Regions from separate parts of the Homo sapiens genome. Here all the other regions are linked to region 3. The links are contacts of gene promoters, found by promoter capture Hi-C in human tissues and cell types (Jung and others, 2019). All regions are on one chromosome and are shown on one strand. The core of a region is centred on a gene start or on the middle of the fragment in contact, and the rest is flanking DNA. Distances in the headings are between cores, read along the strand shown. Region 1 overlaps BAIAP2L2 (BAR/IMD domain containing adaptor protein 2 like 2). Region 2 overlaps TAB1 (TGF-beta activated kinase 1 (MAP3K7) binding protein 1). Region 3 holds the start of NPTXR (neuronal pentraxin receptor).

Region 1 (3,228 bases), core at 123-2,622, 750 kb after region 3:
TGGACTGGGGGGCAGCAAGCGGGGCGCTTCTAGGAGCTGCCCCCTCCTGAGTGGCCGTACATAGAGGTTTCCCTCCCTTCTTCCCTCTTCCCTCCCTGCCTGCCTGTCTGTAGAAATTCATTTTATTTTGCTATCTCCATCCATTTCTTCCTTTGTTTCTGGGTTTGCTTGTATCACTGTATATTCACTCATTTATTCACTCGTGATATTGTTTGTTTTTAATGCATTCACGAATTCATGCATTTATTTATTCATGTGTGGACCATTTTTTAATTCCTGTTTGTATATTCTCACAATTCACAAATTCATTGATAGGTGTGCTCAGTTATCGTCTATTAATTTTATCATATTATTTATTTATTTATTTTTTGAGACAGAGTTTCACTCTTGTTGCCCAGGCTGGAGTGCAACGGCACAATCTCGGCTCACTGCAACCTCTCCCTCCCGGGTTCAAGCGATTCTCCTGCCTCAGCCTCCCGAGTAGCTGGGACTACAGGCATGTGCTATCACGCCCGGCTAATTTTTGTATTTTTAGTAGAGACGGGGTTTCGCCATGTTGGCCAGGCTGATCTCAAACTCCTGACCTCAAGCGATCTGCCTGCTTCGGCCTCCCAAAGTGCTGCGATTACAGGCATGAGCTACCATACCCAGCCATTTTATCATATTATTTAAATCCTCTATGCTCTTGCATTGTTCTGTCTGCTAGACTAGTCAGACTCTCTCATCTCTCATTGGATTTCTAATAGATTTCACTTTCTGAATTGAGCTGCCATGTTGTTTGGCGTTTTTTGGCTATAACTATTCTACCTTCTTTGTAAATATTGCCATTTATGTACTTAATGTCTCTCTTAAGTTTGATGCTTTTAATTCCGCCTTGTCTGATATTAATACTGCTCTATTTTCTCTTCTCTTTGCTTATCTCTTTGTATGTTAAGTATACTTTCTGTTACTGACTTTTGAGTTTTTGACCAGTCTTACAGTCTGTGTCTTCTAATAGAAAAGGAATTCAGCCCATTCCCATTTAACATAATAATGAAGATACCTGGGTTTTATTCCTTTTAGATAACTTGAGCTAACTGTATTTACTTTGTCATTTCCTCTTTTTCTCCCACACTATTTCTTGTCAGTTTGGTTGAGTTATTATACTATACATTCCCCTTTTCCCTTTATTAATTTAGAAATTGCACTATTTTTTTCTCTCTACCTGTGGTGACCTCACTTTGTGACTTTCATAATCACATATATATCCACCTATTTTCCAAAAATGCCAACTTCACCCTACTACAGACACACACTGTTCAGTCCATCGCTCCGCCAATTCATAAGATGAGACCTTGATTTAAAGCTTTCCACAAAAATTAGGCTGGGCGCGGTGGCTCACACCAGTAACCCCAACACTTTGGGAGCGCGAGGTGGGTGGATCGCTTGAGGTCAGGAGTTCGAGACCAGCCTGGCCAACATGGCGAAACCCCGTTTCTACTAAAAATACAAAAATTAGCTGGGCGTGGTGGCAGGCACTTGTAATCCCAGCTACTCAGGAGGCTGAGGCAGGAGCATTGCTTGAACCTGGGAGGCAGAAGTTGTAGTGAGCCAAAATCAAGCCACTGCACTCCAGTCTGGGCGACAGAGTGAGACTAAGTCTCAAAAAAAAAGATGAGATAATACCTTAAGAAGTATTTTCCTGCCCTCCAACTATTCTGAGGTGGGGCCTTTGGAAAGCTTTTACTCCTGTCTTCATCCTTCCCATCCTCCACTTCCTGGTTTTGCCAAGATAGTTTAGGACTTAGTTTCAGACCTCACTAGTCATCTCTGCAGCATGACCCTTGTATTTTGATAAACTGATTTTATTTATGTGTGTATGTATTTATTTATTTTGAGACGGAGTCTTGCTCTGTTGCCCAGGCTGGAGTGCAGTGGCGCAATCTCAGCTCCCTGCAACCTCCACCTCCCAGGTTCAAGTGATTCTCCTGCCTCAGCCTCCCAAGTGCTGGGATTACAGGTGTGCGCCACCATGCCCAGCTAATTTTTGTATTTTTAGTAGAGACAGGGTTTCACCATGTTGGCCAGGGTGGTCTCGAACTCCTGACCTCAGGTGATCCACCTGCCTCGGCCTCCCAAAGTGCTGGCATTACAGGCATGAGCCACCACGCCCGGTCCTGGCTTGGGGTTCTTATCCCTCCCACGCCTCCCACGCCTCCCACGCCCTCCCCGAGTCTCTGGATCTGAACCCACGGGCCCAGGGATACATGACTGGATCCAAAGACCCAGATTTCGGCTCAGGCTCTCATCTGCCCACTGTCACCGCCTCACCCGGCCCCAGGCTCAGCCTTCTCGTCCCCTGCTATCCCACAAAAGGTCTGCCAGGGAGAAACAACTTCCTTTTTTGAAAAACAGTTTTATTGAGATATAATTCACATACGATTCACCCATTTACAGTGTACACTTTCTGGTTTGTAGTATATTCACAGAGTCATGCATCCATCACCACTATCAAGCTTAAAATATTTTCAATACCCTCCACCACAGTAACCCAGTACCTCGGCCAGGCGCGGTGGCTCACACCTGTAATCCCAGCACTGTGGGAGGCCGAGGCGGGTGGATCACCTGAGGACAGGAGTTCGAGGCCACCCTGGCCAACATGGTGAAAACCCGTCTCTACTAAAAATACAAAAGTTAGCCAAGCGTGGTTGTACATGCCTGTAATCCCAGCTACACAGGAGGCTGAGACAGGAGAACTGCTTGAACCCAGGAGGTGGAGGTTGCAGTGAGCCAAGATTGCACCACTGCACTCCGGCCTGGACAAGAGCGAAATTCCGTCTCAAAAAAAAAATACAAACCGGTACCCCTTAGCTGTCATTCCCAATCCTCCCACTCCCCCAGCCCCAGGCCACCAGGAATCTACTTTCTGTCTCAATACATTTGCCCATTCTGGACATTTCATATAAACAGAATCATACAATGTGTGTGCTCTTTTGCGACTGGCTTCCTTTTCACTGCTGGATAATATTCCATTGCTTGGATACACCACATTGTATTTACTCGTTTACTCGATGTATTTACTCAGATGTTAGCTGATGGACGCCTGGTTGTTTCCACTCTTTGGCTGTCATGACCACTGCTGCGCTGAGCATCCATGTACGAGTCTTCATGTGGACATATGTTTTCATCTCTCTTGGGTATATAAGAGTAGAATTGTGGGGCCATATGGTAACTCTATGTTTAACTGTT
Region 2 (3,468 bases), core at 962-3,461, 560 kb before region 3:
GGTGTGTCATGGCACAAGAACAATTCATCTGAGAGCGTTTCACAACAGGAGACCAGGAGTAAGCTGATGATCTACTGACCACTGTATGCTGTGCTGTATTTGGCTGATGTGGGAATAACTAACTTTCCCAAATGAGAAAAACTGTGTGTCTGACGGCAATCAATCTACTGAGCACGTGCCTTGTTCATTAAGTACCCGTGAATAGTGTCTAGATATTTCAACACTGCTAAGTACTTTTTTAGGAAATCTGATTTTCATAATGTTGAGGCAGTAATATTTCTGGAATTTATTATTTTATAAACTGGCAAATGGTGTTTGGGTCAGTAAGTATGGACACTAGTGCTATTGTTTATCTAAGGAGTCTTGGTCCATTCTTGGTAAAAACACTCCAGAAAACAGAAACTGATGGCTCCTTTCTGAACATGCTACTCTGTATACTTCAGCCCTAATGCTGGCAACTTACTCAGTGGGGAACACTTCATTAAGATCAGGGCCATAGGGCTGGGCATGGTGGCCCACATCTGTAATCCCAGCACCTTGGGAGGCTGAGGCGGGCAGATCACGAGGTCAAGAGATTGAGACCATCCTGGCTAACATGGTGAAAACCCGTCTCTACTAAAAATACAAAAAATTAGGCTGGGCACGGTGGCTCACACCTGCAATCTGAGCACTTTAGGAGGCCGAGACCGGCGAATCACGAGGTCAGGAGATCGAGACCATCCTGGCTAACACAGCAAAACCCCGTCTCTACTAAAAATACAAAAAATTAGCCGGGCGTGGTGGCAGACGCCTGTAGTCCCATCTACTATCGGGAAGCTGAGGAAGGAGAATCGCTGGAACCCGGGAGGCAGAGCGTGCAGTGAGCCGAGATCACGCCACTGCACTCCAGCCTGGGAGACAGAGTGAGGCTCCCTCTCAAAAAAAAAAAACAAAACAACAACAAATGATCAGGGCCATAGCAAGGCTGCCCACTCTATTACTTCACACAGAACTGGAGGTGTTAGCCCAGGCAGTTAGACAGAGTAAAGAATGAGAGCATAAAAACCGGGAAAGAAGTCATTTCTATTTGCAGTTGATAGGACAGTACGCCTGGCAACCCTAAAGAATCAATGAAAAACTAATGCAAACAGAAAAAGAAATCAGTTAGGCGGCAGGATAGAAAATCAAAGTATGCAAATCAACAGCTTTCATATACCCAAGAGAAGATGAGCATCTAGCCTCTATGTAATGTAAAATAACAAAGTCCTTTTCCTGTGAGTTTCTACCATGTCTGTCTCCCCCAGCCAAACTACTATAGAAGGTTGTTTTAAATCTAAATTTATATCAGTCGAATTACATCTTAATGCATTCATCCCAGCCTTCCAGACTGTCGAAAGTTTTGAATTTTGCCCTTTGACAGATTAACAATCTCACTCAGCTGTGTATCTTGTACAGACAAGGCCTTCTACTCACTGTTCCAAACAATCTCTAAAAAACTGTGACCAGAGGCCGGGCGCAGTGGCTCACGCCTGTAATCCCAGCACTTTGGGAGGCCAAGGCGGGCAGATCATGAGGTCAAGAGATTGAGACCATCCTGGCTAACACGGTGAAACCCCGTCTCTACTAAAAATACAAAAAAATTAGGTGGGCGTGGTGGTGGGTGCCTGTAGTCCCAGCTACTCCAGAGGCGGAGGCAGGAGAATGGTGTGAACCCGGGAGGCAGAGCTTGCAGTGAGCCGAGATGGCGCCACTGCACTCCAGCCTGGGCGACACAGCAAGACTCCGTCTCAAAAATAAAAAATAAATTAAAAAAAAATAAAGAAAGAGTAAGAAAAAAATTACCCAAAGAGCATATGTAAAAGTACCCATGGTAAGGCAAAGCCTGTCCCTTTCTGTCTTTTTAAGTCCTATCTACCCTAAAGGCACTGCTCAAATCCAACTAGGGCCAGAGGCCCATGATTCCCAAACCTCAATCATCCACTGACCATCTTCAAGAAACTATCTTTCACTCAAATGATTCCTTTTTTTTTTTTTTTTTTTTTGGTGACAGTCTCACTCTGTCGCCCAGGCTGGAGTGCAGTGGCGCGATCTTGGCTCACTGCAAGCTCTGCCCCTCCAGGTTTAAGCAATTCTCTGCCTCAGCCTCTGGAGTAGCTGGGATTACAGGTGCGTGCCACCATGCCCGGCTAATTTTTTGTATTTTTAGTAGAGACGTGGTTTCACCATCTTGGCCAGGCTGGTCTTGAACTCCTGACCTTGTGATCCACACGCCTTGGCCTCCCAAAGTGGCCCTGTGGCAACCATTGTGCTATAGCCTGGTATTGTTAATTAGATTACCTTATTTCACTGATTTGAAGACCTACATTTTCCACATGTTAACGTCTCTGGAGTTGGTATGTTACAAGTTAATTAGCTGTGAGTTCTCTTTCTGAGCAATAGACAAAACACTGACGTGTCCTTAAAACATTGGTGTCTTAGATCCAATGACACATGGGCAGTTTCTCACGTAATTCGGGCGCTCGCCAGACACTGGTTCACTACAGTGGCCGGAGAACCTCAGGAGGTTCTACCAAGTGGGAGTGAGAGTATCTGGTCTTCTCCGTGTTCCCCAGCGGACTCACGCTGCTGCAGCTGAGTAGGCTTGGATCGTGTTCTCCCGTCCCTTTCCATCTCCATCGAGGATTAGCCATACCGAGCGTCCATTGCTGATTCCATTAAAGCCTACAGGACTGCCAAGTCTCTCGCTTCCTTCCTCCACATTTCTGAACAATTTTCAGAAAGGTCATGTACTTTCTATTCACACAAACCACCCACCCCTCCACCCCTGCACACACTGATGCATACTTTCTCCCACGCCCCCAAATGCCAGGCCTGCCAGCACCAGCCGTGAGCGGCGCTGGAGCGCAGGGAGCAAGAGTCTGCGAGAAGCTGAGAAGGGGGCGTCTCTCACTCAGCACAGCCTCATCGCGGAGCCACTGCAACACACACAACAGCGAACGCAGGACTTAACTCTTCCATGTCTGAGAAATGAACTGCTCATGAGAAATTTCACAAGAATACGTTAAGAAGCCTGTTTCAAAAGACCTAATTTTGATTTGATTTTGTGAAGGAGTTTCCAAAATTAATGTTTCGGTATGAAAAGCTTCTACAGTGATCCAACAGTATTTAACCCAACAAGGCCTTTACAAACACCCTGTGCATGATGTAAGCATTCACTCCTCATGTATATATGTGTCCATGTCACATAATAGTTCACAAAGTACCCACACAGACTCATCTCAAAGTCCTGGGCAGCAGAAATGGACAAAGAATGGTTCCAAGCTCAGGCCACAGCTTGAATACCAAATTATGCTATGAAAAGGCCAAGTGTTTTTGTGGTAAAAGCACCCACATTCCTTAGAAGCAAAAAGGAAGCTCAGAAAGGGAGACTCACAACCCCAGGAAGAGGGCTCGGAGCAGGGGAGCAGCAGACCTTTCTCTCCAAAAAGC
Region 3 (3,059 bases), core at 84-2,583:
GGACATCATCCTAACATGTGTGGAGAGAGGGAGGTGGAGCACGTGTGCCTGGGAACACTGGACAAAATCCCCGTGGCTGGAGAGCGTCCCCCAGGGTTGTGGCTTCCTGGGAAACATTCCGGTCTCTCCCCACCACCAGCGCTATGTGAAGTACACTCGAAACCACAGTGGTAGCCGTGGTGGTCCAGAGATCCTGGTTTGCGCTTTCCCTTCAAGTCAAAAATGCAGGCTTGGAAGGGAGACAGAGCTGGGAATAACCACAGCCCTCCCAAGGCCCTTCCAGCCCTGGGAATCCGTATTGGTCAGGAAAGACCTCATGGAAAATTGGAGCTGGGGATAAAGTGTGGAGGATAGTAGGATTGTTTTTAAGTTTTTAATTGCAAAGTTAATTTTCAACAAAATATATATAGACATTTTTGACAGAAGAAAGTAAAACGCTCCTCTGCCACCCCCACAGCACAGCCCACTCCCATTCCTGCTGTTCCTTCTGGGCCTGGTCCACATGCCCACCAGGCACGTGGCACCGCTTGCCAACGAAGGCAGACTGCAGTGGGGGTGGGGGGTTTCTCTGGACCTGTGAGGCTCTAAGCCCCCAAGGATTCAGAGGAGAGAATTTCCATCATCCTCTGAGATCACAGGAAGATTCTGTAATGAGGGTGGCGGGGAGTGAACTCTGCTCCTTCAGAAGGTTGGAGGTGGGGGTGACGGGCAGGTGGCCACAGTATAAACAGAAGTTAGGTCAAAATCCGAGCCTCCCCCCAACCCCCAACACTGGCCTCTTCTCCACCTCTAACCGCTCCCACTCCAGCCCCATCCACAGTCTGGTCCGGTGAAACGTGCCTAAGCTCGCAGGCGGCTCCAACGCAGCCACCCGGTGACCTTGGACAGAGGCCTGACCTCAGGTGTCTCAGTTTCCTCATTTCTATTGTGAGCCTGTCCACGGCAAGGCTCAATTGCGACCGAGCTTGTGGCGCGCCCAGTGCACAGCCCCACCCGGAAGAAAGCTCCCTCCCGGGTGGATGTGAACATAACCGGCTTGGGGAGGGGGCCCGAGCACGGGAGGGCTGGGATGGGGGTCACCCAGGAGCCCCGCCGCGCGGCCCTCGGGTCGCCGGCCCCTGCGCTGTGACCGCGGCGAGATAAGGTCCCAGGCGCTGCCCTCGCTCCTCGCCGCATCCCCGGCGGCGCCCCCAGCCGGGCGCCCGGCACTGAACGGGTGCGGGGCTGGGCCGGGGCCAGGGCCGGCCCGGGGAAGCGAGTGGGGCGGGGCCGCCGCGCCCGCTCCCCCTCCCCGCCGCCTGCCGTCTTCTCCTCCTCCCGCCGCCCGGGCTCAGAGCGGCGGCAGCAGCGGCCGCGGCGACAGCTCCAGCTCCGGCTCCGGCTCCGGCTCCGGCTCCGGCTCCCGCGCCTGCCCCGCTCGGCCCAGCGCGCCCGGGCTCCGCGCCCCGACCCCGCCGCCGCGCCTGCCGGGGGCCTCGGGCGCCCCCGCCGCCCGCCTCACGCTGAAGTTCCTGGCCGTGCTGCTGGCCGCGGGCATGCTGGCGTTCCTCGGTGCCGTCATCTGCATCATCGCCAGCGTGCCCCTGGCGGCCAGCCCGGCGCGGGCGCTGCCCGGCGGCGCCGACAATGCTTCGGTCGCCTCGGGCGCCGCCGCGTCCCCGGGCCCGCAGCGGAGCCTGAGCGCGCTGCACGGCGCGGGCGGTTCAGCCGGGCCCCCCGCGCTGCCCGGGGCACCCGCGGCCAGCGCGCACCCGCTGCCGCCCGGGCCCCTGTTCAGCCGCTTCCTGTGCACGCCGCTGGCTGCTGCCTGCCCGTCGGGGGCCCAGCAGGGGGACGCGGCGGGCGCTGCGCCGGGCGAGCGCGAAGAGCTGCTGCTGCTGCAGAGCACGGCCGAGCAGCTGCGCCAGACGGCGCTGCAGCAGGAGGCGCGCATCCGCGCCGACCAGGACACCATCCGTGAGCTCACCGGCAAGCTGGGCCGCTGCGAGAGCGGCCTGCCGCGCGGCCTCCAGGGCGCCGGGCCCCGCCGCGACACCATGGCCGACGGGCCCTGGGACTCGCCTGCGCTCATTCTGGAGCTGGAGGACGCCGTGCGCGCCCTGCGGGACCGCATCGACCGCCTGGAGGTGAGCGCCGCGCGCCGTCGGGGGAGCCGCCCGGGTGGTGTGAGGGGCCGCCCGGCCGCGGTCGTCCGGCGGTCCCCGAGCCTCCGGTCTCCCGTCTGTGTTCCGGGGACGATCGCGCCTTCCTCGCTGGCGAGGCGGGGGGATTTCGATAGGGAACGCGGGCAGGCGTCTGGCACGGTGACTGAGGCACAGAGGGCGCGCCAGAAAGATTCGCTCCCCACCCTTTTCCGTCTCCAGGCACCTCTCTGAGCCTCAGTTTCTGTGTCTGTAAAATAGGTATAACAGTGTCCACTTGTAGTGGAAATTGAATCAAATGTAGGTGTGTGAAAATGCTTGGCACGTACTAGGACCTCATTAAATGTCCCTTTCATTTCCTTCTTCCGGACACCCCCAAATCAGCCCAGCTCCACGCTCACACTTTATGGCCAGGAGATGGATGCGCTGTCCAAAGGACTTGGGGTCCTCCCCTCATTACACAGAGCCGGGAACAGAGTGCCCTATAAGACAAACCTGGGTGCCCCTCACCACCTCCCTACCCTGAATCTCCCACTCTGGCTCAGACTATGACCCAAACCGCAGGAGCTCAGGTGCCAGGCGCCCAGCCTCACACACCTGGAAGCCCACAGCTCTTGGGTGGGGGCTGAATGGAGAACAGGGCCCCCCGAGCTCCTCCTCCTCCACTCACTTTTCCAGGCTTTCCTGACTCAGGCTTGGGGTCAGACACAAGGGGTCCAGCATGGGGGAACCCACTCTTGGCTCTCATGTGACCCTGGGCCAGTCATTTCCCCCCTGGAGTCCCATGGCCACCTTCCTCCCTGTAAGAATGAATTTGGGGCTCCCAGAAGTGCAAGGCAGACAGACTGGGCAGGACAAACATCCGGGACACATTCACTACCCCAGCCATGGCCTGACTTCCAGACCACAAGGAAGGGG

Evidence for each region. The method cuts DNA at HindIII sites, captures the fragments that hold promoters and counts their contacts. A contact is called where the count stands out against the background at its distance.
Region 1: a fragment that was not itself captured here is called in contact with the fragment with the promoter of NPTXR in region 3 in 1 of the 25 tissues and cell types used here (spleen).
Region 2: a contact is called between a fragment that was not itself captured here and the fragment with the promoter of NPTXR in region 3, in 3 of the 25 tissues and cell types used here (dorsolateral prefrontal cortex, hippocampus and psoas muscle).

Annotation. Positions count from the first base shown.
Region 1 is chr22:38,093,798-38,097,025 of GRCh38, reverse strand. All of the region lies in intron 7 of BAIAP2L2 (BAR/IMD domain containing adaptor protein 2 like 2), which reads left to right. Among named protein-coding and RNA genes, the nearest start is that of SLC16A8, 11 kb to the right of the region's middle. The HindIII fragment of the contact is 3,515 bases long and covers 1-3,129 here.
Region 2 is chr22:39,404,951-39,408,418 of GRCh38, reverse strand. All of the region lies in intron 1 of TAB1 (TGF-beta activated kinase 1 (MAP3K7) binding protein 1), which reads right to left. Among named protein-coding and RNA genes, the nearest start is that of TAB1, 6.9 kb to the right of the region's middle. The HindIII fragment of the contact is 6,290 bases long and covers 1-3,468 here.
Region 3 is chr22:38,842,302-38,845,360 of GRCh38, reverse strand. NPTXR (neuronal pentraxin receptor) reads left to right here and starts at 1,333. Exons shown (of 5, transcript NM_014293.4): 1 at 1,333-2,126. The coding sequence starts at 1,503. RefSeq lists a silencer at 1,745-1,814. The HindIII fragment of the contact is 15,093 bases long and covers 1-3,059 here.